Regions from separate parts of the Homo sapiens genome. Here all the other regions are linked to region 1. The links are contacts of gene promoters, found by promoter capture Hi-C in blood cells and fetal thymus (Javierre and others, 2016). All regions are on one chromosome and are shown on one strand. Each heading gives the region's core, a stretch centred on a gene start or on the middle of the fragment in contact. The rest is flanking DNA. Distances are from core to core; before and after follow the strand shown. Region 1 holds the start of SLC35H1 (solute carrier family 35 member H1). Region 2 overlaps ZSWIM1 (zinc finger SWIM-type containing 1). Region 3 holds the start of PCIF1 (phosphorylated CTD interacting factor 1). Region 4 has its middle 4.5 kb from the start of MMP9.

The links. Contacts are between HindIII fragments. The CHiCAGO score rates a contact against its expected background, and 5 or more counts as called.
Region 2: a contact is called between a fragment that was not itself captured here and the fragment with the promoter of SLC35H1 in region 1, in 2 of 17 cell types (fetal thymus and total B cells). The highest score is 7.0, in fetal thymus.
Region 3: a contact is called between the fragment with the promoter of PCIF1 here and the fragment with the promoter of SLC35H1 in region 1, in 4 of 17 cell types (total CD8 T cells, non-activated CD4 T cells, fetal thymus and 1 more). The highest score is 8.3, in total CD8 T cells.
Region 4: a fragment that was not itself captured here is called in contact with the fragment with the promoter of SLC35H1 in region 1 in 1 of 17 cell types (non-activated CD4 T cells); the score reaches 5.2 in non-activated CD4 T cells.

Annotation. Positions count from the first base shown.
Region 1 is chr20:46,363,175-46,369,310 of GRCh38, reverse strand. It overlaps SLC35H1 (solute carrier family 35 member H1), which reads left to right and starts at 4,886. Exons shown (of 10, transcript NM_015945.12): 1 at 4,886-4,940. It overlaps LOC124904917 (a long non-coding RNA gene), which reads right to left and starts at 4,772. Exons shown (of 3, transcript XR_007067614.1): 1 at 4,591-4,772. It overlaps ELMO2 (engulfment and cell motility 2), which reads left to right. Exons shown (of 22, transcript NM_133171.5): 21 at 343-420; 22 at 1,751-3,261. The coding sequence ends at 1,951. RefSeq lists an enhancer at 492-721 and a silencer at 4,746-5,165. The HindIII fragment of the contact is 17,737 bases long and covers 1-6,067 here.
Region 2 is chr20:45,881,870-45,888,005 of GRCh38, reverse strand. It overlaps ZSWIM1 (zinc finger SWIM-type containing 1), which reads right to left. Exons shown (of 2, transcript NM_080603.5): 2 at 2,740-5,473. The coding sequence starts at 5,413. The coding sequence ends at 3,956. It overlaps SPATA25 (spermatogenesis associated 25), which reads left to right and starts at 384. Exons shown (of 2, transcript NM_080608.4): 1 at 384-470; 2 at 861-1,515. The coding sequence starts at 416. The coding sequence ends at 1,489. RefSeq lists enhancers at 672-1,172, 1,173-1,673. The HindIII fragment of the contact is 4,284 bases long and covers 1,355-5,638 here.
Region 3 is chr20:45,929,797-45,935,932 of GRCh38, reverse strand. It overlaps PCIF1 (phosphorylated CTD interacting factor 1), which reads right to left and starts at 1,250. Exons shown (of 17, transcript NM_022104.4): 1 at 1,129-1,250. It overlaps LOC107985388 (pre-mRNA-splicing factor cwc22-like), which reads left to right and starts at 862. Exons shown (of 1, transcript NR_171669.1): 1 at 862-2,439. RefSeq lists a silencer at 720-929 and enhancers at 558-1,248, 1,249-1,940, 2,200-2,349, 2,632-3,324. The HindIII fragment of the contact is 3,152 bases long and covers 1-2,130 here.
Region 4 is chr20:46,001,307-46,007,442 of GRCh38, reverse strand. No RefSeq gene overlaps it. Among named protein-coding and RNA genes, the nearest start is that of MMP9, 4.5 kb to the left of the region's middle. RefSeq lists enhancers at 2,128-2,779, 2,780-3,431. The HindIII fragment of the contact is 6,341 bases long and covers 719-6,136 here.

The sequences.
Region 1 (6,136 bases), core at 3,637-6,136:
GATAGAAGTTGTTAGTCATCTTGGTAATATAAAAACTTTTAGGATAACTTACAGTCATGGATCGTGACCTTCCAGGGTTCTGAGTGTTGAAAATGACTTTTTTCCAATCTTAAAAATATCACAACATCTTTGATGTGACTTGGGCAGGGAGTGGGTAAGTTAAGGTTGATTTATGCTGGGCCTCATCTCCAGCCACACTTGTGGCCGCCTAGGAGCATTGATGACATTCATCTGAATCAGCATGTTTGGTGATGATGCCGAGTCACTAGGACTTTGGCCAAGATCTTGATGTGCAGACCCCAGGCTGTTCCATCGCTCTAATTTAAACCCTTTCTCCTTCAGGAGGTGTTGGAATTGGCCTTCTCCATCCTGTATGACCCTGATGAGACCTTAAACTTCATCGCACCTAATAAATATGAGGTGAGCAGTGTGGCGCTGCCTTAGACAACAGAGCTATTTCTGTAACTCTTCAGTTGGTGGCAGGAATGAGCAAAACAGGAAAGTCCCCTGTGGTGGGTGGCTGCAGTGTATATTGAAGCCTAGGAAGGCTTTGAGAAGAAGGTGGCATTTCAATAGGATGGGAATGTCTCAAAGGAGGAGCTGTGGTTGGGGGGGCACCCAGATGAAGCAGCAGGTATCATTACATAATGCTGGACCTGAGGTTCCTCCAGGCGCATTGGGTGGCTGCCAAGGATCTGTCACACTCTGGATTGTTTATCTGTGAGCTGGGCTCTCCACATTACTCTTCAGCAGCAGCCATAGGTTGTCATTACAAAGATAAGGTCAACTAGGAATGAGTCATTTACCTGGGACTGGGAAAATTCTCCCCTTTTCAGTTTCTCTGTGGTCAGCTACCCAAGAGAACTTGACAGATCCTTCCTCCTAGGGGCTCCTGGTCACATGTTGTAATGGATCCAGTGTGGACTTTGAAGCCAGATGGAACTGGTCCTTCTGACAAGGGCCCTGTAGTTCCATCTGCAGCACTGGAAGATACTAGATATTAAATGAGTGATTGCATTTGAGACCCTATGTGCCTGGTGAGCTCTGAGAGCCATCACTGGGAACTAGAGGTGGGACTTCTGGCAGAGGAGACACTTGGGCAGGGCCTGAGCTGCCGCTAGTGGAATTTGGTTGAGAGGAAATGAAGAACAAGCAAGTGGGGAACCAGGTGAGCAACGGTGTGGAAAAAGGAAAATGGCAGCAGAGGAAGCAGGAAGAGTCAGGGAGCGGTGGGATCAGAAGGCTTCCTGGTCACCCCCTCTTAGCATGAGACCCACCAGTTCCATTTCTTTAGTATTTACTCTTTAATATGTATTGACTGGATTATTTTTAATTTTGTTTTCGGGGGGGCGGGGCACAAAATTGAGATCCCACAGTGACTTCTGTTTGTGTCTTGCTTCTTTTCACCTAATACATATTTCCCTTCTCTCGCTTCTGATTTTGGGTAACTTCAGGTAGATGATGCCCCAGTACTCAGATCTCATTTTGCTGTATTCGTTTATTGCATTTTTAGGTTCTCCTTCATATTATTGTAAGGAGTTGTAATATAAAACCCCTTATAAAAACCAGATCTCTTGAGAAAGTGAAGGATCACCTCCTAATTTATCTTTGCTATCATTCCAAATCAGTTTTGCCTATACTGATTAGTTCCAAAAGGAACTGTTGTGAGCCCCATCAGAAAAGAGACCTTGGCAGGATCTCCTGCTGACCAGGGGTCACGATGTGACATTTTGCAACTTGCTCCCCACAGTACTGCATCTGGATTGATGGCCTCAGTGCCCTTCTGGGGAAGGACATGTCCAGTGAGCTGACCAAGAGTGACCTGGACACCCTGCTGAGCATGGAGATGAAGCTGCGGCTCCTGGACCTGGAGAACATCCAGATTCCCGAAGCCCCACCCCCCATCCCCAAGGAGCCCAGCAGCTATGACTTTGTCTATCACTATGGCTGAGCCTGGAGCCAGAAACGACGGTACCCAGGAGAAGGGATTTTGGGCCCAGGAGAAACACTTACATTCTGGTGCCTTGTCTTTTGCTTGTACAGAATCTGTAGTGATTTTGGTGGCCAGTAAATGCCAGCCATTTCTCAAACCCACCTCGGACCACCCAGAGTTTCCTCTTGGTCCCTGTCTACTAAGAGTCATGAAGGCAGGGTGCTCTGCCCACTCCATCACCATGAAGCCTGGGATTGGGCCACGAGGAACAAACAGCAGATGCCCTTGCCTTCCAGTCCAAGAAACTGCTTCTTGAAATGGATTTAACAACAGCCACTCACCTTTTCCTCCTGAGCCTGCTCTCTGATCAGCTGGATCCCCACGTGAGCAACAGCTGGCCCAGGAAAGGCTGCCTGCAGAGGACAGGTGTGTTGGGCGTGTTGAGAGCCTTGAAGTGACTACCTGTATCTTAGATCTGAGTACAAGCCTGAGGCTTTTGCTTTTGTCTTTTTTGATGAGGGCTCACTCCAGCTTCATATGGTGCCAAGACGTTGCTGCTTCTGAGGTTGGCTCTAACATCTCTGGTCTTTAGAGCCACCAGATCTCTCTGGCCCATACAGATATCAGAGCAGACGGAAATTTCTCCCTGCAAGCGCTCAGTCTCATCCCAGCAAGTCAAAGACCTCCTGGCCAAGTCCTGCCCTCTTAAGTCTCCAGGAACGCTGCAGGGAAAACCCAGCTGAGGCCTGGGCCTAGACTGTGGTGAGGTCACTAGATTCTACTGCTCTTCCCCCACATTAATACCTTTTCCTTCCTCAGAGAGAAATCTCCCCTAACCTGAATTGCAGCCCCCTCCAGTTTGCTTTCCTTTGGCCTTCCAGACCCCAGGAAGTTGGCCTTCCCTTCCTAGTGCTATGGTTTCTGCCATTGGCCATGATTTCAGGGAGCTGGCTGAGGCCGGCTGAGGCCACACCTGTGCCAGTGGGGCTTCCCTGGTGCTGCAGCACTTGTAAACCACACACACAGCCTCTCTCCCTGGACATACGTTAGCACATTGGCATTCAGTATTGGTGGCCTGGCATGGTAGGTACTACCCAATGAAGAGTGTACTATATATTTTCATTACTATAGGCCATACTTATACAGACGTGTATATATATTTATATAAGATCTACCTATCTTAGGATGGAACCTTGGGGAAAAATAAAATTGAGGGGAAGTAAAAAGTATGTAACACTTCCAGTTGTGAGCCAAGATTGTAACCAGAGAGCAGCCAGGAGCTTCCTGTCAGTAACCATGTTTTCAATAAATACTCTTTCATGTACAAACTGTGGTTCCTGTTAACAGCTGTTTGTCTGTACTTGCCCCCTGCCCAATGGTGAAGATTTCACCTTGACAAGACTTGATCTCCATGTATCTGGGAGACTCTGGAGAGCTCCAGCTGGAGCCCTTAGTCACCTTCCAAGAGTCCCTTCCTCCTCATCATTCGCTCCTCCCACACATACACACACACAGACACACACCTGCTGGTTAAGAGTGTTCACAGATTGCTGCACTGGGACGAAGCGTTTTCTGCTCAACCCTGCTGGGTACAGCAAGGTAAGGCATACTGTACACCCCCATGAACACATCCTCCCTCTTCTCCCTGCCAGGGACACAGCCAGGGAACAGCTCGAGTACTTGTGCCTTACAAAGAAGACACGCTCTTTACCCTGTGTGTTGCCTGTGCATAGTGCCCAGCCTTCCAGCTGGTGTTTTAGGCTGTTGCTCCAAACCTTGGCCTTGGTAGCTGGGAGACTTAAATGAGGGTGGTGATGAAAATAGATCTCTTGCCTCTGAGAGAGAAGGGTGTGAGGACAGGCTCTTTCAAAAGGCATAGAAAGTGCATGCAATACAAGCCTGAGGACTGAATAAAGCCAAGACCTTGGGCAGTGATGGGTACCATTGTAGGTGCTTGGTAAGCACTGAATGAACTAATGCCTGCATGATGCCAGCTGGCGGCGGTGACAGCCGCAGTTTGCATAAAACACTGCTTACACTCTGGCCTTGAGCCTTCTGTTCAGAGGGGCCAGGGATCCCAGCTGAGTCACTTGTAAGGATCCATGTTTGCAGCTGGTCTTACTGCCAGAGAGCCCAGGAGGAGGCTAGAGGAGGGCGAAAGGCACAAAACTGGGTCTGAATGTGCAACCCTAGCTTGCCCTGGCCTAATGTTCTTGACTGCAAATGCTGCCCTTTTAATCCATCCCGCAAGATGAAGAAAATCTGAACTCCCTAGGCTGGCATTTTGGGGCCACTGCAACCTGCCTCTTGGCTACTTTAACCACCACAGTTACAAACAACCTGTGAGCCCCAGGCACGGCTGGAGCTTTCTCACCCTCCTTTAGGATTCTCCCATTTCCTCTATCTGGGATGCTCTCTCCCTACTCAACCTATTGAAGTTGAGATAATTCTTAGAAAGTTTCATACAGAAAATATTTCACAAATGTTTCGTATTACTTCTGGATCGCCCAAGTTTTAAGTTGTAATGGCCCCAGCTGGCCTGAGCTCCCAGAAGAAAAAGCCCATGAGATACTTATCTTCGTGGTTCATTCCATGGTTGCCCAGCATTAGACTGGACATAAGAAAAACAATTTGTTCAGTAAAAGTAAACAAGTTACCATTTTTTGGATGCTCACTGTATGCAGAACACTAGCAGGCACCGGGGTTCCAAAGCAAGCCCCTGATTGAGCGCGGGAGAGACGCAGACAATTACACGGCTGTGCTCTGAGCCTGAGGGACTTCGCGGAGGACAAAACTACGCTGTACCTCAGAAAGACCAGACCACCTCAGAACCCGACCACAACAGACGCCCCGCCCCCGTGCTGCCCCGCCCCGCCTTTTCGCCCCGGCTCCGCCCAGCCCCTGGGTAGCTTCCGGCGGAAGTTACCGCCCGTGCCGCGGTTCGGCGGCGGCATCCGGCCTCGCACTTCCGGTGGGGAGATTCCGGCCTGGAGCTCCCAGGGCCGAGGTGAGTGGGTGTGCGGCCGGCCTCCCGGCGCACTCCCAGAGGCTGGGGGGCCGGGGCTGGAGAAGGGAAGCGGGCTCCCCACCCGGGATCTGCGCGGGTTGACATGGGGCACGCCACGCCCCTGCCCCTCCCCGGGCCTCAGTTTCGCCGTCTGTGGAGGGGGCAGGGGTCTCCAAGCGCCCTCCTGCAAGGCACCTGCCGGACGCCGGCTCATCTGGTATTTCCTGAGCACCTGCGACGTCCTGGGTGCGGGACCCGGGCCGGAATCGGACACGGCCCTGCCCTCTGAGGGGCTGCTTCCCGCGGTGGGATTGGGGCGGGCAGTAAACACGTGAGCAAACAAGGAAACGTCAGAGGTGGGAGTGCCACGAGGATTGGGAGGGGTGGGGCATTGGAGAAAGTATTCAGCCAAGCGGAGGTCTGCGGAAGGGAGCTGAAGGCAGGAAGAGCAGCAAGTAAAGAAAAACACAGGTTTGATGTGTTTGACACGTGGCAGGGGGCCGCTGTGGCGGGTGCTGGGACCAGTGGCAGAAGAATGAGGTTACAGAGGCCTTCCTTGTGGACCAGGCTGAGGAGCTGGGCTTAGCCTTAGGGCATGATCTGTTTCGTGTGCCATCTCTCTGGCTGCTTTATAGATTCCAGGCCTTAGGGGCGAAAGAGGAAACAGGGAGACCAGTTAGACCAGTGGCAGTCAGCAGGTGAAAGATAATTGTGGCTTAGACTGTGGTAGTGGGAATGGAGAGGAAGAGAAGTAGAGGGGTCAAGAAGTGTATTGAAAGTGGAACTGACAGGGCAGGATTTGAGAAATGACAGAAATAAGTGGTCAAAGATGACTTCATCATAGATTTTTGGTTTTGGCTTAAGTAACCAAGTGTATTATGCTGGCATTTACTAAATGACTTTGGGATAGATTGGGAGCGTGAGAAATAATTACGAAATCTTCTTAGGGCATCTTAAGTTTTAGATATTTGGAGTGCAGCTACCAAATAGGCAGTTAGATATATGAGTCTGATACAGAAAAGGTCAGGGCTGATGTAAAGAATTTAGAAATCATTGGCAAGTGGATTGGGTAGGATGAGATTATGTAGGGTAAGATTTAAGAGAGAAGAGAAGCCAGGTTCCAAGCTTTAGGCACCCAATTTTTATAGATTGAGTTGACAAGAAGGTGCCAGCAAAAAAGACCAATAAGGAGTCCA
Region 2 (6,136 bases), core at 2,247-4,746, 480 kb after region 1:
CAATACTGGGTCTGACCCGAAGTCTTACTCTACAAGGCACGAAGCACTTGGCTCCTGTGTTTCCATCTCTGGTCATCTGCTTCCATACAAATGATCTCATTTCATCCTCAAAACTCCTAATGAGGTAGTGGGCAGTCATCAGACACACTTTACAGATAAGGATATCAAGGAACAAAACTATCTGGGTGACTCGTTCAAGGTTAGGGCAAGAACCTAGAACACCCAGCTCCTGGTCTGGTGCTCTTTTAACCTCATCCTATTGTCATGTCCAGGTTCTAGAATGAATAGGTCAACGCTGTAAAGTGGATTCCAAGTGTGAAGGGGAGGGTCTATGAGGTGACATTCTAGAAGGGTGAAGAAGGGAGGACAGGCGGCAGATCACTATTCCCTCACAAACCGGGGCTTTGGGGAAGCCATGTCCTACTTCAGGACTCCACAAACTCATCCAGGTCCTCTGCCTTCCGGCCAAGGTGAGCGGGGGGCACCTGCAATTGGAGGGAGTGCGGCAGCTTCCCCTGAGAAGTTGCTTTCTGGCTCTGGGGAGGTGGCGGTTCTGCTGGGCATTTGGGGGCTGGCCCTAGAATCAATTCTTTTAGAAGAAAAGCCATTCCAAACATCCTTGCCAATCAATAACTACCCGCTTGCTCACTATTCATTAATTCAACAAACGCTTCTCCATCACCTACTCCGTGTTGGGGACTGGGAGTGTGGATATGAGTAACACCTAGTTCCCAACCTCTAGACAGTCCGCTGGGGCTGGTCTTAGTTACGCCCCCAAGCTCTGCTCCCATGCCCTGCCCCTCAGGGCCCCCTCCTCAAAGAACTGAGAATAACGTTCCATTTCATTCCTGTCTCTGCAGGTGGGGCTGCTTCTCCAGGCTTGTCCCTTGGCCTCTGTAGTCCTGTAGAGCCAGTGGTGGTGGCCTCTGGTGGAACAGGCCCACTGAGCCAGAAAGCTGAGCAGGTGGCACCTGCTGCCCAGGCCTGGGGCCCAGCCCTGGCAATGCCACAAGCCAGGGGCTGCCCTGGGGGGACTAGCTGGGAGACACTACGGAAGGAATACAGCCGAAACTGCCACAAATTCCCGCATGTGAGGCAGCTGGAGAGCTTGGGCTGGGACAATGGCTACTCCAGAAGCAGAGCCCCTGACCTGGGTGGCCCCAGCAGGCCTAGGCCCCTGATGCTGTGTGGGCTGTCACCACGGGTTCTACCGGTACCCTCTGAGGCAGTGGGGAAGGAGGCCAGCTCCCAGCCTGATATCTGCATCCTCACCCTCGCCATGATGATCGCTGGCATCCCCACCGTGCCCGTCCCAGGAGTTCGGGAAGAGGACCTGATCTGGGCCGCTCAAGCTTTCATGATGGCCCATCCGGAGCCAGAGGGTGCTGTGGAGGGGGCGCGGTGGGAGCAGGCACATGCCCACACAGCCTCTGGGAAGATGCCCCTAGTGAGATCTAAAAGGGGCCAGCCTCCTGGCTCCTGCTTGTAGATGGATGAAATAGCACCAGATATGTAGGGTGGTTTCTCCGTATGGTTCTTGGGCAGACAGGGTTGGGAGGAGGGCCTATGGCAGGGATGGGGATAGAGCTGGTGGTTGAGCCATTCTGACAAATTCCAGTCCTTCATCAGGGACTTCCAGACCCTAAAGTTTCTCCAGATACCACTAAGACAGGAGATAGGTTTTGTCAGGTAGATACAATGGAAATTATCTGAGGTAGGGGCCCCTGCTTGGAGAGTTAAGGCTGCTTTTATGTTGTTTTGAAGACTTGATCAGAATTTTTTTTTTTTTTGAGATAGGGTCTCACTGTGTCACCAATGCTGGAGTGCAGTGGCACAATCACAGCTCACTGCAGCCTCAACCTCCTGGGCTCAAGTGATCTTCCTACCTCAGCCTTCCTGAGTAGCTGGGACTACAGGCACGTGCTACATCCAGCTAATTTTTGTATTTTTTGTACAGAAGGGGTTTTGCCATGTTGCCCAGGCTGCTCCAATCTGCCTGTTTTGGCCTCCCAAGGTGTTGGGATTAGAGGCGTGAGACGCCGTACCTGGCCTACCCAGAATTTTTTTTTTTTAATTTTTATCTTTTAGACAGAGTCTTGCTCTGTCACCTAGGCTGGAGTGCAATGGCATGATCTTGGCTCACTGCAACCTCCGTCTCCCAGGTTCAAGTGATTCTCCTGCCTCAGCTTCCCGAATAGCTGGGATTACAGGTGCCTGCCACTACGCCCGGCTAATTTTTGTATTTTTAGTAGAGACACGGTTTCACCATGTTGGTCAGGCTGGTCTCAAACTCCCGACCTCAGGTGATCCGCCTGCCTCGGCCTCCCAAAGTGCTGGGATTACAGGTGTGAGCCACCATGCCTGGCCAGAATTTCTTATATTAAGTCCTAGGTATTTGAATTCTCCTCTTGCCTTAAATTTCCCAGCATGTTGAAGGCAGGTCATAGGACCATAGGCAAGGAAGGAAAATTAATACTTAATTGAGCACCCACTAGGTATGCCTGCTCTGTGAACATACCCTGTGGAGATCCCCATTTTTACAGATAATCAGGTTGAGGTTTAGAGGGGTAACTTATCCTAATAAGTCTCATAGCTAGTAAAAGGCAGAACCAGGCACAAAAATCAAGCAGGGAAGGAACCAACCAGGATTCACATGTTGTATAACACTCTAAAGTCTATTCTCTCCATGATATACCCTAAACTGCCTTCTATGGAACAAAAAAAAAACTAGACAAGTGCTAGAATATGCAACATTCAGTTTTATTGACCCCAGGATGGGACAAGGAAAAAAGTTCAGGGAGCCTGGCTGAGTCAGCTCCCCAGAGGGGCCTCTTCCCCTGTAGGAAGCCTCCCAGCCCAGCTCACTTAAAGGAGACGGGTTAAGTGAGTCATCTCATGACTGGGGCAACTGCTACCAAGCCCCAAACCTCAACCTCACCACCTGATGTTTTATCTCTTATCTTAGACCAGGGGTTGCCATTTATTTTATTTTTTTTAGATGGAGTCTCACCCTCCCAGGCTGGAGTGCAGTGGCAGCAGGATCTTGGCCTACTGCAACCTCTGCCTCCCAGGTTCAAGCGATTCTCCTGCCTCAGCCTCCCGAGTAGCTGGGATTACAGGGCCCCCGCCACCACACCTGGCTAATTTGTGTATTTTTAGTAGAGACAGGGTTTCACTATGTTGGCCAGGCTGGTCTTGAACTCCTGACCTCAAGTCATCTGTCCACCTCAGCCTCCCAAAATGCTGGGATTACAGGCGTGAGCCACCATGCCCAGCTGGATTGCCTGCTTTTTTAAAGACCTTTGAGCTAAGAAAGGTTTTTACCTTATGAAAATGTTAAAACAGGCCGGGTGCGATGGCTCACGCCTGTAATCCCAGCACTTTGGGAGGCCGAGGCGGGCAGATCACGAAGTCAGGAGATCGAGACCATCCTGGCTAACACGGTGAAACCCCGTCTCTACTAAAAATACAAAAAATTAGCCCGGCATTGTGGCGGGCGCCTGTAGTCCCAGATACTCGGGAGGCTGAGGCAGGAGAATGGTGTGAACCCAGGAGGTGGAGCTTGCAGTGAGCAGAGATTGCGCCACTGCACTCCAGCCTGGGTGACGGAGACAGACTCCTTCTCAAAAAAAAAAAAAAAAAAAAAAAGAAAAAAAATATTAAAACAAAACCAAGAATATACAACAGAGACTGTATGTGGCCACCTGAGTAAACTAAACAGATTAAGATTTGCTGACTCCTGTCTCATTGAGCTAGACACATGCTAGGTAGCAGGCCATGGTAGATGAGAAGACCCTTCAACCTTGTCCTTGTTGTCCTTGTTCTGGAAGGAGGGCCCACGGAAGTACAACAGTGTAAGGGAGTGTGTGTGTGTGTGTGTGTGTGTGTGTGTGTGTGTGTATGGGTGGATGTGAGTGTGCACAGGTGCATGAGCATCTCTGGGCATCGAGAATAATCAGAGTTGGACCTGCTCATAAGGCCCAATCCAGCTGTCGGCCAGTTCCCGCAGGGTGCTATACCTCCGCTCAAACTCCTCCTTGGTGCAGTGCTGCAACAGCTGACCCACCTCCTCGGTGAGGTGAGTCACTGCCAGGTGCTTATCCAGGGTCTCACTCCACTTGCTGCCCAGGATGCTGTCTAGACTGGTAGCACAGCCTGCCGTCCACTGAGCCGGCAGCATGTCGGGCTGGAGCACCTGGCGGCGGGCACTGAGCATGGCTAGGATGTGGCGGCAGGGCAGGTGGAAGGCCTGGTTAAAGTAGCAGCTGCAGCTGGCAGGGGGCTGGGGCTGCACCTTATGGGTATCTTCCAGGATCTGTATGTTCATCTTTTCTGAGCCAGAGCCAATGAGGTGTGTGGATTTCTGGACCACAGCAAGCTCGCCCAGGCACAGTTGGGCTGCTGGCCCTGTGCAGATGGCATTGAGGGAGTGCTGGATGTGGGATTCTACCAGCTGCTCCAGTTTGGGGCTTTCGGGGATGGTGTCTGAGGGAGCATGATTGTTCTGGGCACACAGGCCCTGGTTGAAGTTTGCCTTGTCTGCAGAGTTCTGCTGCATGTAACGGAACAGAGAAGCCATACCTTGTTTCTCAGATGGGGTGGTACCAAAGAACTGGCTGAGGATGTGGGTGGTGACCTCGAGGCTCTGGAAGTAGTGGCTGCTCTCAGCTCGGCTTCTCCAGCGGTGAGCCAGCCAGATGCGGTCGTTGAGCAGCCAGTGTGAGTGAAGCTCGGGCAGCTTGGCTGGAGGGATGCAGTTGCTCAGGAGTGTATACAACTTTCTCAGGTTGCCTGCTGTGGCTGAGCACATTGTGCTCTGCAGGGAGGTCAGGAGCAGCCTTTCCACGGGCCGTTCAAGGGACAGCTGATAGAACTTGGCCTGGAGGAACTTACAAATGTGGAAGGCTGAGAGAAGGACCTCAGCTGTGGGGAACTCCATAGCTAGGATAGGCAGTGGAAGGAAATGAGGATCCACCAGGATGGTACAGACTCTCTCCCATGCTGGATTAAACTTCTTGAATACTTGGAACATCTGGGCCAGGCCTTCAGTGTCCTCCTTGGCAGGGATGGCAAAGTAGACTGCTCGGGCAAGATGACCCTCCAGCTGCACCCGAGGTCCATCCACCAGGAAGGTATATAAGACCTTACCCCTTGGGTTATAGGTCCGGTGGATAAATAAGATCTCAGGGAAATGGTCAAAGACACTTTGCATAAAGCAGCTCTGGTAGTTGAAGGTATCTAACTGGGCAGTCTTGTTAACCTGGTGCAGCAGCATAGGTGGGCTTGAGTCCTTAATCAGGAGCCCATTCAGCATTGTCAGGGCCATGGGAGAGATGGGAGCTGTCCAAATGCCAAGGTCAAAATACTTTCTTTGCAGGGCAGCTGACCACGGGGCTTTGAGTCTCTCAAGCATCAAGTAAGTTGAGGCTGGAGGCTAGACAATCATTCCCAGATCTTTTTTCCAAAGATGGGCCTATGGAGAGTAACAGAGGTTTAAGGAGACAGCAGGGACCTGGCTCTTCAATTATTCATCCACACAATATTTGTTGAACACTTACTATATGTCAGCACTGTTCTAGGGGAAGATACACAATAAACATGTAAACAAATAAGCAAATATATATCCAATAATGAAGCTTACAAAGACCATAAACCTGAGTAACATGTCAGAGAGTAAGCTGGGGAAGGGAGGGATACTTTAGTTAAAGTGGTAATGGAAGGCCTCTCAGGGGAGAAGGATGACATTGGAGCTGAAATCTAAATGATAAGAAGTTAGCTATGGAAAGATATGGTTCCAGGGGATTTAAATAGGTATGGCCAGAGCTGCATATGGCCTTTTAAAAAAATAGCATTCTAGCCAGGTGCAGTGGCTCACACCTGTAATCCCAGTACTTTGGGAGGCCAAGGTGGGCAGATAACTTGAGGTTGGGAGTTCGAGACCAGCCTGGCCAACATGGTGAAAACCCGTCTCTACTAAAAATACAAAAAGAATTAGCCGGGTATGGTGGCCCATGCCTGTAGTCTCAGCTACTCGGGAGGCTGAGGCAGGAGACCTGCTTGAACCCAGGAGGCTGAGGTTGCAGTGAGCCGAGATTGCGCCACTGCACTCCAGCTCTGGGTGACAGAGTGAAACTCT
Region 3 (6,136 bases), core at 1-2,500, 430 kb after region 1:
ATACGCACAAGCGGCACAGCTTAGTGTGAGGCTAAATGGGGACACTGCAGTATTTCCAAAGCCAGCTGTGCATCAGAATCATCTTGGAGTTTGTAAAAAAAAAAAAAAAATCAGACTCCTGTGCCTCACTGCGCATCTCAGAAGCCAGAAATAAATACGGAGGTGAGGCACACAAGAATTTGTATTTTTAAAACGCACCGTAAGAGTGACTGGGAGACAGGATGACTCATTTTTTCACACTATTTGAAAAAATGTACCCATTTTTTGCAATTAAAACCATTTTTAATTTCCTATGTGACTTGAGCGCAGCAGGTCTGTGGCCGAAGTACCAGCCCCTGGGTTGGACAGACCCGGATTCCGGGCCCTTCTGCTTTCCGGCTTATAAACCGGAATCACTCGACCGTTATATGTAGAGTCCAGCATTGTACGCTCCCAGTAAGACATAACTGCTCTTAAGTTAACGTCTTTATTTATCCTGTGGCTTCCCGACCCCCACGCATACCGCAGTTTGAGAATTACCGCTGCTCAAGGATAAACAACTCTATCTGCGCAACCAGAAAAACCCACCAGAAGCCAGAGTCCGAGTCCGGGATTGGAGGCACGTGGGGCGGGACCATCTCCGCAATGTACCAATCAGAATTCTCCGGCCCAGTAGGGAGGAGTCAAAGGGCGAACAAAGTACGCAGGCGCGACGGCGCACGAAGGCGAGAGGCGAGCTCCAGCGCGCGCGCGCGCGCGCACCTTCCCCTCCCCCTACCCCAGCGAGGGTGGGCTGTTTGGCGCGCGCGCGCGCGCCGGCCCATCTCTCGGGCTCCGCCCCCCGCCCCGCCGCGCGCTCCCGCCCCCGGGCTGAGGCGACTCAGAGTCGGAGCCCGACACAAAGGCGGTGGCGGCGGCAGCAGCGGAGGGGCCCTAGAGCCCGCTCCGCTGGGGCTCTCCGGGCCCACCTCCCTCACTTCGGCCACCGGCGCGGCCGCCCACCCGCGGGTCTAAGATGGCGGCGGCAACAGAGACAGGGCAAGCGGCAGTCCCGAGCAGAAAGCGCCGGAGGGGCCGCCGCCCCCCAGCTTCGGATCCCCAGACCCTGGCGCGGCTCGCTGCGGGACCATGGCTTCCTGGGACTCTTACCTGCCCGGAGCGGACTGGAGGGGACGCGGCTACACGTTCTGCTCGACCGCCCGTTTTGCCGCCTCCGCCTCGCCCTCCCCAGCGCCGCTGCCGCCATCTTGTGTCCCGGGCCGGGACTCCGCGCTGCGCATGCGCTGGTACCGCCTCTGAGGGACCTCGCCGCGGCCGCGCCGCCATCTTGAGTGTGGCAGGGTCGGCTGGCTCCTCGCACCCAGCTTGCTTTCGGCCCCCTCCCCTTCTTCCCATCCGTCCCTGCTGTTCCTTGTGGCGCTGAGGAAGGGGAGACAGCTTTGTAGGCCTGCGGGTGGACTGAGGAAGGAATGAATTCACTGGCACGTCCCCGCCTCAGTTTCCCCCTCGAGCACACACGCAGGAGCCGGATGTTCGCGGTGGGCGGTGCGCGGCGGGGTTGGACTGAGCGTGCGCACTGGGGGGCGTGGGGGCTGTCTTAGAACCTGCGGGGGTCTCGGGTTCTGCCGCCGGCCCAGGGGAGGCATCGTGGTGACGTAGGCTCCGGACGTAGCAAGGACCTGGGTCCTGGCACCCGCGCGGCTCTGCCTCTTCCAGCCAGTCTCTTTCCCTCTCTGGGCCTTTGTGCTGCGTGGTGTCCAAATGTTAAGAAGCCCTGCCCCATGCCCGGGCTACATATACATCGAACCCAAGCTGTAAATGCTCTTGAGTAGAAGCAACTTAAACTAGCCTTCGGGGGCAAGTAATAGAGATGGCTTTCGGCAGAGTTGGGAAATCAACTAAATGCATTGTAGGGCCTTTCCAACATTGACATCTGTGGCCATTAGTTGCAGTTCAAAGCCTCACTGAGCCCTCAAACCAGCTACAGCGGGTAGCCTGGCAGGGAACTGGCAGCTGTGAGGTGCTCCTCATCCGGCTCCCTGCAGGATTCTTTTTGGTAGGAGCCTGCAGGCGTCCGAGTGGTAGCTCCACCCATCTCCGGTCTCCCCAGCAAGCATCCCTTCCAGTGCTAGCTTGAGAAGAGGAAAAGCTTGCCACCTGCTGTCAGACCGGCGCTTGTGTGGAGCCAGGGGCTGTAGGTACCCCGGCTGAGTAGCCTCTCAGATGTCCATGGTCCTGGCTGCACGCCAGCGTGGGGGCAGGCAGGCGGACGCTCAAGAAAAACGGAGGCACCGATATGAGTAGTAATTGAGAACGAGGGTTCATGATCCTCATCTGATTTCAATCCCTGCTCCTCCACCCAAAATGTGTGGCCTTGAAGGAGTTAACCAATTTAAATTTTAGTTTCCTCAGTGGAAGATAATAAATCCGCCTACCTCATAAAGGTTTGGTGAGAATTAACTCAGGTGATGCATGTGAAGTCCTCAGCGCAATACCTGGCGCTTCCTAAGTGCTGAATCGGTTAGCCGTGATCATCTCACAGTGGCATGAGCATTGCTCCAAGTAGATTTGAGCCCTCCAGAAATAAGCCAGCTCTATATAGGCACAGCAGTTCTGCCCTCGCAGAGCTTCTCGTTCAGATAAGAGGCCTGATGGGAAACCAGACTCCTGGGTCCTGTCTCAGTTCTGGAAGGGTGGGGGGCCAGCTTTGATTTATGCCTGCTGCCCTGGCATAATTACTAATATTGCCTCCTTTTTCAGAAGTGCCCTGCTTTGGGCCGGGCGTGGTGGCTCACCCCGGTAATCCCAGCACTTTGGGAGGCCGACGCAGGTGGACCACCTGAGGTCAGGAATTCAAGACCAGCCTGGCCAACACGGCGAAACCCCGTCTCTACTAAAATTACAAACATGAGCCAGGCCTGGTGGCGCGCGCCTGTAATCCCAGCTACTCGGGAGGCTGAGGCAGGAGAATCACATGATCCCGGGAGGCAGAGGTTGCAGTGAGTCGAGATCGCGCCACTGCACTCCAGCCTGGGCGACAGAGTGAGACTCCTGTCTCAAAAAAAAGTACTGCTTTGGGCAGTAAACTACGTGGTCGCTCTTGACCTACGGGATAACCAGTTTTCCATGCTCATGCCCCCCAGCTAGCCCGCGCTTTCACTAAAGTTTAAAAACCATGTAGTGATTATTACCCTTTTTTTTTTTTGAGACGAAATCTCGCACTGTCGCCCGGGCTGGATTGCAGTGGCGCGATCTCGGCTCACTACAACCTCTGCCTCCCGGGTTCAAGCAATTCTCCTGCCTCAGCCTCCCAAGTAGCTGGGATTATAGGCACCCGCCACCACTCCCACCTAATTTTATTTGTATTTTTAGTAGAGACGGTGTTTCACGATGTTGGCCAGGCTGGTCTCAAACTCCTGACCTCATGATCCGCCCGCCTCGGCCCCCCAAAGTGCTGGGATTACAGGCGTGAGCCACCGCGCCCGGCCTTTTATCTATTCTTTTATGTTTTCAAAGTATTTTCTCATTCATTGTTCAGATTCTCTTAATTGATAACCAAGATACCAAACATCCCAAGTGCCTAGTCTTCTGTTTTATCATGGAATTCTGTGAATTATTACCTAAATCTGCACATGAGCAAACAGGTTGGAGCGAGGGGCAGGGGCGAAGTCATTGTCCAGGTTCACACAGCCATCAACAAGTAACAAAACTGGGATTTTAAGCCCGGAGTTCTCAACACCAAAATGCAGGGCTGGTTCCATTAAACCACTCTGGCCTCCCTGTTTTGTGAAGAAGGGATCTAGATTCAGGCGATGTGACTGGTCTGAGTGGACACAGTGGCCCTGGATAGTTCAATCTTTTTTTTTTTTTTTTTTTTTGAGACGGAGTTTCGCTCTTGTTGCCCAGGCTGGAGTGCAGTGGTGCAATATCGGCTCACTGCAACCTCCGCCTCTAGGGTTCAGGCGATTCTCCTGCCTCAGCCTCCTGAGTAGCTGGTGTTACAGGCATGCGCCACCACGCCCGGCTAATTTTGTATTTTTAGTAGAGACGGGGTTTCTCCCTGTTGGTCAGGCTGGTCTCGAACTTCCCACCTCAGGTGATCCGCCCACCTCGGCTTCCCAAAGTGCTGGGATTACAGACGTGAGCCACCGCCTCCGGCCTGGATAGTTAAGTATCTTAAAGGTTTCTCTATCTCACAGTGTTCAGCACTGCTTTTCACCTGATACATGCCTCATCTTCTCCGTTTGCTCACTTTCCGCATGTCAAAACCAGCCTCTTCTCAGCTGGGTGCGGTGGCTCACGCCTGTAATCCCAGCACTTTGGGAGGCCAAAGCGGGTGGATCACCTGAGGTCAGCAGTTTGAGACCAGCCTGGCCAACAGGGTGAAAGCCCATCTGTACTAAAAATACAAAAATTAGCTGGGCATGGTGGCAAGCGCCTGTAATTCCAGCTACTCAGGAGGCTGAGGCAGGAGAATCGCTTGAACCCGGGAGGAAGAGGTTGCAATGAGCCGAAATCACACCATTGCACTCTAGCCTAGGTGACAGGAGCAAAACTCCGTCTCAAACAAAACAAAACCCAACCTCTTCTCACCATTCTAATGACTACCTTAAGAGCTGGCGTTTCCCACCCCTACCCCCCTTTTTTTTAGAAGCAGAGTCTCAGTCTATCTCCCAGACTGATGTGCACTCATAGCTCATTGTAACCTTGAACTCCTTGCCTTAAGCAATCCTCCTGCTTCAGCCTTCCAAAGTGCTGGGATTACAGGCATGAGCCACCACACACAGCCCAATTTTGTTTTGTTTTTTGAAAAGGAGTCTTGCTCTGTCGCCCAGGCTAGCGTGCAGTGGCGCGATCTCGGTTCACTGCAACCTCTGCCTCCCAGGTTCAAGTGATTCTTCTGCCTCAGCCTCCCGAGTAGCTGAGATTACAGGTGCCCGCCACCATGCCCGACTAGTTTTTTTTTTTTTTTTTTTTTTTTTTTTTGTATTTTTAGTATAGACGGGATTTCACCACGTTGGCCAGGCTGGTCTCGAACTCCTGACCTCAGGTGATCCACCCACCTCAGCCTCCCAAAGACAAATTTTTAAAACCTTTTTATTGTTAAGAATAGCATATGGGGCTGGGTGTGGTGGCTCACACCTGTAATCCCAGCACTTTATCCCAGGAGGCCTAAGCGGGCAGATCATGAGGTCAGGAGATCGAGTCCATCCTGACCAACATGGTGAAACCCCATCTCTACTAAAATACAAAAAATTAGCCGGGCACGGTGGCACGCGCCTGTAGTTCCAGCTACTCCGGAGGCTGAGGCAGGGACACCACTTGAACCTGGGAGGCAGAAGCTGCAGTGAGCCAAGATCGCACCACTGCACTCTAGCCTGGTGACAGAGCAAGACTCCGTCTCAAAAAAAAAAAAAAAATAGTGTATGATAGACTGGCACAGTAGCTCATGCCTGTAATCACCAACACTTTGGGAGGCCAAAGTGGGAGGATACCTTGAGGTCAGGAGTTAAGAGACCAGCCTGGGCAATGTAGCAAGACCCTGTCTCTGAAAAATGTTTTAAATAAAATTAGCCGGGCATGGTGGCATGGGCCTGTAATTCCAGCCACTTGGGAGTCTGAGGTGGGAGGATCACTTGAGCCCTGGACGTCGAAGCTGCAGTTAGCTGCACTCCAGCCTGGGCGACAGAGACCGTGTCTTAAACATAGCTGGGCGCAGTGGCTCATGCCTGTAATTCTAGCACTTTGGGAGGTGGAGGTGGGTGGATTGCTTGAGTCCAGGAGTTTAAGACCAGCCTGGGCAACATGGTGAAACCTGCGTCTCTACAAAAAACACAAAAATTAGCCAGGTGCGGAAGCACACACCTGTAGTCCCAGCTACTTAGGGGGCTGAGGTGGGAGGATCACTTGAGCCCAGGCGGTCAAAACTGCAGAGAGCTATGATCATGCCACTGCACTCCAGCCTGGGCAACAGAGCAAGACCCTGTCTCAAAAAAATGTATACAAAATAGACTGGGCATGGTGGCTCACGCCCGTAATCCCAGTACTTTGGGAGGCCGAGGCGGGTAGATCACAAGGTCAGGAGTTTGAGACCAGCCTGGCCAACATAGTGAAACATCGTCTCTACTAAAAATACAAAAAAATTAGCTGGGTGTGG
Region 4 (6,136 bases), core at 2,640-5,139, 360 kb after region 1:
CCCAGGCTGGAGTGCAGTGGCGTGATCTCGGCTCACTGCAACATCTGCCTCCCGGGTTCAAGCAATTCTCCTGCCTCAGCCTCCCGAGTAGCTGGTATTATAGGCGTGCGCCACCACGCCTGGCTAAATTTTTTGTATTTTTAGTAGAGATGGGGTTTCACTACGTTGACCAGGCTGGTTTCGAACTTCTGACTCAAGTGATCTGCCCACCTGGCCTCCCAAAGTGCTAGGATTACGGGCATGAGCCATGGCGCCCGGCCCAATAAGCTGTATTTAAAGGGCCTACTATGTGCCAGGCATTTTATATGCTTATCTAATAAATGAGACTGTGAGATGGAGATAATTAACTTCCTTTACAGAAAAGTTGAAGTTCTAAAGTTCACTAACCAATGAACATCTGCTTTGCAGTCACGAAGTCCTGGATTTCCATCCCGGCTCTGCCATTTTCCAGCTATGTGACCTTGGGCAAGTCACTTTACCTCTGAACCATAATAATAATAATGCATTTTTTGAGATTTACTGTGTCAAGCACCGTAATAAGTTCTCTATAAGCCTCTCGTTTCATCCTCACCACCTGTAAGGTAAGTTTAATGAGTATCCCTCCTGTTTTCAGAGGGGGAAACTAAGGCTCAGAGAGTTAAGGAATTTGCCTGTGATCACAGAGCGAGTTAATCCACAGAACTAGTGTTCAAGCCCAGAACTGCCTGGCTCTGAAGCTTTTCATCTTTATTACCATTTACAGGGAACTGTGATGACCCAGGTATAGAAGTGGGTAGGTGGATGCGGTGACAGGGGCAGCACATAAAACCTGGATGCTTCTCCTCTGGTCCCCTGCTACCCACTGAAGGTAAGAGAGGAGGCCCAGGCATTTAGGGAATCAGAGGCTAGGACAGGGGACCCAGGAGGAACTAGATTCTAGACTCGGGAATGTGAGGTCATAGAGTAATATGAGTTTAGAGGAACAGATCTTCCAATCTGGAGGATCTTCATCTGGGTGGCAGACACGGGCTTTTAGGAAAATCCGTTAACTACCCCCCACTTGCCATCAATGGTACCAAACATGACATACAATACATATCTATGTATGTATGTCACATAGCTCAAACTTAGCACTATTGGCACTTGGGGCTGTCGTGTGCATTGTAGGATGTTTAGCAGCGTCCCTGACCCCTACCCACTGGATGCCAGTAGCACCTCCCCCTGCCAGTTGTGACAACCAGAAATGTTACCAAACATTGCCAAATGTACCCTGGGTGAGTGGGAGGGGCAGACTCACCCCCAGCTACTGGTATATGTTGATTTTTCTATGTAAAGGGTCTAAAACTTTTATCAGATACTCAAACCATTGTTGATGATCTTCAGACCTTTTAAAGACCATTTACTCAACACATTCTAGTTGAGTTTTTCTAGGCCAATCATTATGCTAAGAATTGGGAATACAAGTAGTGACCAAGATAGCCTTTGTCTCATTGTTCATGGATCTGAGAGTTCAGCATGGGGAGAAATTGAATGAATAATTAATTACCAGAGAATCAGGCATCAAGAAAGGAAAGTGGATTTATGTATTCCAATTACCCTCATCATGCAATGAGGAAACTGAGGCTCAGAGTGGTCACAGAGCAAGAGCCTGCACTCTGGAGCCAGGCTGCCTAAGTTCAAATCTCAGCTCTGCCACTGACTTGCTGTGTGACAAGGGCAACTGACACAACATTTCAGTGCCTCAGTTTCCCCATCTGTAAAATTGGAGTAATAATAGTGCTTCCTTCATGGGGTGGTTGTAAGGCTCAAAGTGTTAGCAAATATAAAGTGCCTGGCACATGATAATAAGTGTTCACTGCTATGCTAATTAGGACCACCTTCAGGACAGCCGCTGTTTTTTACCAAATGGGAGCAGGGAGAGAGCAGCCAGGAAACCCAGATCTTGATTCCTGGAGTCAATCCAAATAAGAATCCTCCTTTTTTTAACATCCCCCCCAACTCCCATCAACTTCCTCCTTTACCTCCTGGCTCCCCAACCCCCATCAAGGGGAACTTGGACAGAGCTTGGCTTTCAACACTGCAGTGGCAGGAAGTGGTTCTGGTTACCACATCCCCTTCCCCACTTCCCCCAGCCTCTCTTTTTAATACCACAATAGAGTTTAGCCAAGACCCTGGGAGTGCAGGCAGAGAACAGCATATACCCTCACGTAGAGTCATAGCTTAGACTCTAAGCCCCTCACTGAGGTAGCTCCATCAGGATGGGGAGGGTGCTGACCCTGGAGTCCTGAATCACTAGCTGGATGACACAGCCCTGCAGGCCATTATTAATAACAGGCCCCCAGATCAGGGTCAGCCTCACGAGATGAGGAATCTGTCCCGCTATCTAGGATGGGGGAACTCCAAGCCTCTTTCTCCCAAACCTGCCAGAGAGGGGAGGGGCAGCCAGGCCAGAGAGGCTCTGGCAGGATGTGGAGGAGACACTGAAATCTGAGATGAAGTAGAAAGGTGTGTATCCTGCAAGACATTGCCTCAGGGGAGAGCATCACTCAAGTACCCCACCCCCAACCCACAAACACACCTGCCATCCCTAGCTTCAGGGGAATGGCAATTCCCACACTGACTCTTAGAGTCCCTATTAACACCAAGTCACACCTCCCACTTATCTGTACTGAGCACCGTCAGTAAGGAAGCCATAGGGCATAAATTTTGGAATCAGACCTCCTGGGTTCATATTCTACTACCTATCATTTATGGGCTGTGGGACTTTAGGCAAATCACTTTACCTCTCTGTGCCTCCCTTTTCTCATTTGTAAAGTGGGGAAAGAAGCAGACCTCATTTGGAGGTGTTGTAGTGGGGATTAAATGTGATTATACATGGCAAATTCTCAGCACAGTGCCTGGCTCTTAGCAGGTACACACACACACACACACACAGTTTAGCTATTATGATTCTATTACTCTAATGCTCTCATCTCAACTTTGCAAATTAACGTTCATACCCATGGCTCAGAGAAGTGCTTTAAGTTGCTCACGGTCACACAGCTGGTGAGTGACCAGCTGCCTAGGCCTTCTGACTCCCAATCCCGTGCTAAGATCAGGTCACTGGCTCTCGCAAAAAGGAAGTCCATGGGGGCAGCAGTCTAGGGGCAGGGAGGGGTGATTGCCCAGAAGCCAGGCTGGAGGAGTTATGTTTAGGAACCAACAGAGGGAACAGATGTGAGTTATTTGGCTGAAATCTGTAGGAAAGAAAAGTTGGAGATAAAAAAGGAAAATAAGAGTGAGGTAGCTGGTAGGGCAGAGAACAGTCAAGTGGAGGTTTTTTTGTTTTTTGGGGTTTTTTTTTTGAGTCAGGGTCTCACTCTGTCACCCAGGCTGGAGTGCAATGATGTGATCTAGGCTCACTGCAGCCTCCGCCTCTGGGTTCAAGCCATCCTTCGACCTCAGCCTTCTGAGTATCTGGGACTACAGGTGTGCTCCATCAAGCTCAGCTAATTTTTGTTTTTTTGTAGAGACAGGGTTTCGCCACGTTGCCCAGGCTAGTCTTAAACTCCTGGCCTCAAGCAGTCCACCCGCCTCGGCCTCCCGAAGTGCTGAGATTACATGCGTAAGCCACCGTGCCCAGCCTCAAGTGGAGTTTTATTTAAGGTGAGAAGTTCTTGTCTACAAGAAGGGATGGTGCTGTGCAGGGAGAGATGTGAAAATGGAGGTGAAAGAGAATGGGCCTGGGACCGGTTCCTTTGACACTGGGTTGCCCACTGGCAGGTAAGAATATGCTTGGGGTCCCAGCAAAGCAGGCGCAGTCCCAAAATACACATTTAAAATATTGATTTTGACCGGGTGCGGTGGCTCACACCTGTAATCCCAGCACTTTAGGAGGCAGAGGCAGTTGGATCACCTATGATCGGGAGTTGAAGACCAGCCTGGCCAACATGGTGAAACCCCGTCTCTACTAAAAACACAAAAATAAGCTGGGCATGGTGGTGCATGCCTGTAATCCCAGCTACTCAGGAGACTGAGGCAGGAGAATCACTTGAACCCAGGAGGCAGAGGTTGCGGTGAGCTGAGATCGCGCTACTGCACTCCAACCTGGGCGACAGAGCGAGACTCCGGAGACTGTGTCTCAAAATAAATAAATAAAATAAAATATTGTTTTTGATATTTGGAAAAAATCCTCAAAGTAGCCAGCTTGGGAAAAAAAAATCAGTTCTCTATTGTTCTTTTTATGAAGTCATTTCAGGGTTTAGTGTTGTTTTACTTTGGACAACAGATGGGAGGGGCACCGTATTTTCAGTAATCACAGCCACTAAAGGTGTAAATCTGGTCCTGCTCACAATGGGGAAGAGGTGGGAAGAGGACTTAATCTTTGAGAAATCCAAGGTTAAGCATTCAGCGGGGGCTCAGTCCCTGCTGGACAAATGGATGGAGAGAGCCCTGGGGAATGGCTCAGGAGGGAGAAGTCCATGTGGCGCACAGGGAAACCGGCACATATTTTGACCCTTTTCCAAGCCTGGGTTGAGCCTCTACTCTCGGCCCAGCCCACTTTCTCATACATCTTCCAGTTCAATGGTTCTCAAACTGTAGTCCCAGGACCAGAAGCCCCTGCAGCACCTGAGAACTTAGAAACACAAATCCTCCCCGCCCCAGAATGATTGAATCAGCAACTCCGGGGTGGGGCCCAGAAATCTTTGACCTAACAAGCCAAAGTTTTTGTTTGTTTGTTTGTTTGTTTTTGACACAGAGTCTCACTCTGTCTCCCAGGCTGGAGTGCAGTGGCACGATCTCGACTCACTGCAACCTCCACCTCCCGGGTTCAAGCGATTCTTCTGCCTCAGCCTCTTGAGTAGCTGGGACTACAGGGGCCCGCCACCATGCCCGGCTAATTTTTGTATTTTTTAGTAGAGACGGGGTTTCACCATATTGGCCAGGCTGGTCTTGAACTCCTGACCTCGTGATCTGCCCGCCTCAGCCTCCCAAAGTGTTGGGATTACAGGCGTGAGCCACCACACCTGGCCCTTTTTTTTTTTTTTTTTTTTTTGAGACAGAGTCTTGTTCTGTCACCCGGGCTGGAGGGCAGTGGCATGATCTCAGCTCACTGCAACCTCCACCTCCCAGGTTCAAGCAATTCTCCTGCTTCAGCCTTTTGAGCAACTGGGACTACAGGTGCTTGTGGCCATGTCTGGCTAATTTTTGTATTTTCAGTAGAGACAGGGTCTCACTATGTTGGCCAGTCTGGTCTCGAACTCCTGACCTCAGGTGATACACTGGCCTTGGCCTCCCAAAGTGCTGGAATTACAAGCATGAGCTACTGTGCCCAGCCCAGCCAAGTGATTCTGATGCATGCTCAGTTTGCCACCTCTGCTGTAGTGCAGCTTCATCCCTACGCTGATAGGGAGGGCATTTGACCCCATTTCCAGATGAGGAAACTGACCTTCAGAGAGATGAAGCCACTTGTCCAAAAGCCACACAACTCATACCAAAATCAAGTGGGAATCTAGGCCTTTCTGACTATATAAAGTGGGTGCTTCTCACTACAACATTATAGCGGGGGGTGATGTTCAAGTATTTAACAACCAGGTCCTCAGGAGCCCTAACTAATCAGAACTGATTATGTCCAGGGTCTGGGGAGATGGGGAGGGTGATGCTTTGAACTTAGAAAGTTCAAAGCAGCCCCAGTTACAAGTGGATGGGGAAATATGTCAGTATTTTATTTTTGAGACAGGGTCTTGCTCTGTTGCCCAAGCTGGAGTGCAGTGGCACAATCACGGCTCACTGCAACCTGTGCCTCCCAGGCTCAGGCGATCCTCCCAAGTAGTTGGGACCACAGGCACGCTCCACCACGCCTGGCTAGTTTTTGCAATTTTTATAGAGATGGGTTTACCATGTTGCCCAGGCTGGTCTCAAAATCTTGAGCTCAAGGGATCCATCTGCCTCGGCTTCCCAAAGTACTGGGATTACAGGCATGAGCCACCGCACCCAGCCATATTTCAGTATTTTTACAACCAATGCTGCTATACCAGTGCATACTGGCTGCACACCAATCCTCCAGTCCCCTTCCTAGAAGGAGGGTCTCCTGAAGCTGGCACCGGGTGGTGGGCCTGCAGCTAACAATAGCCCCAAAGCAAGCACAGGTATAACAAGTGTCTCGTGGGAATCCTGT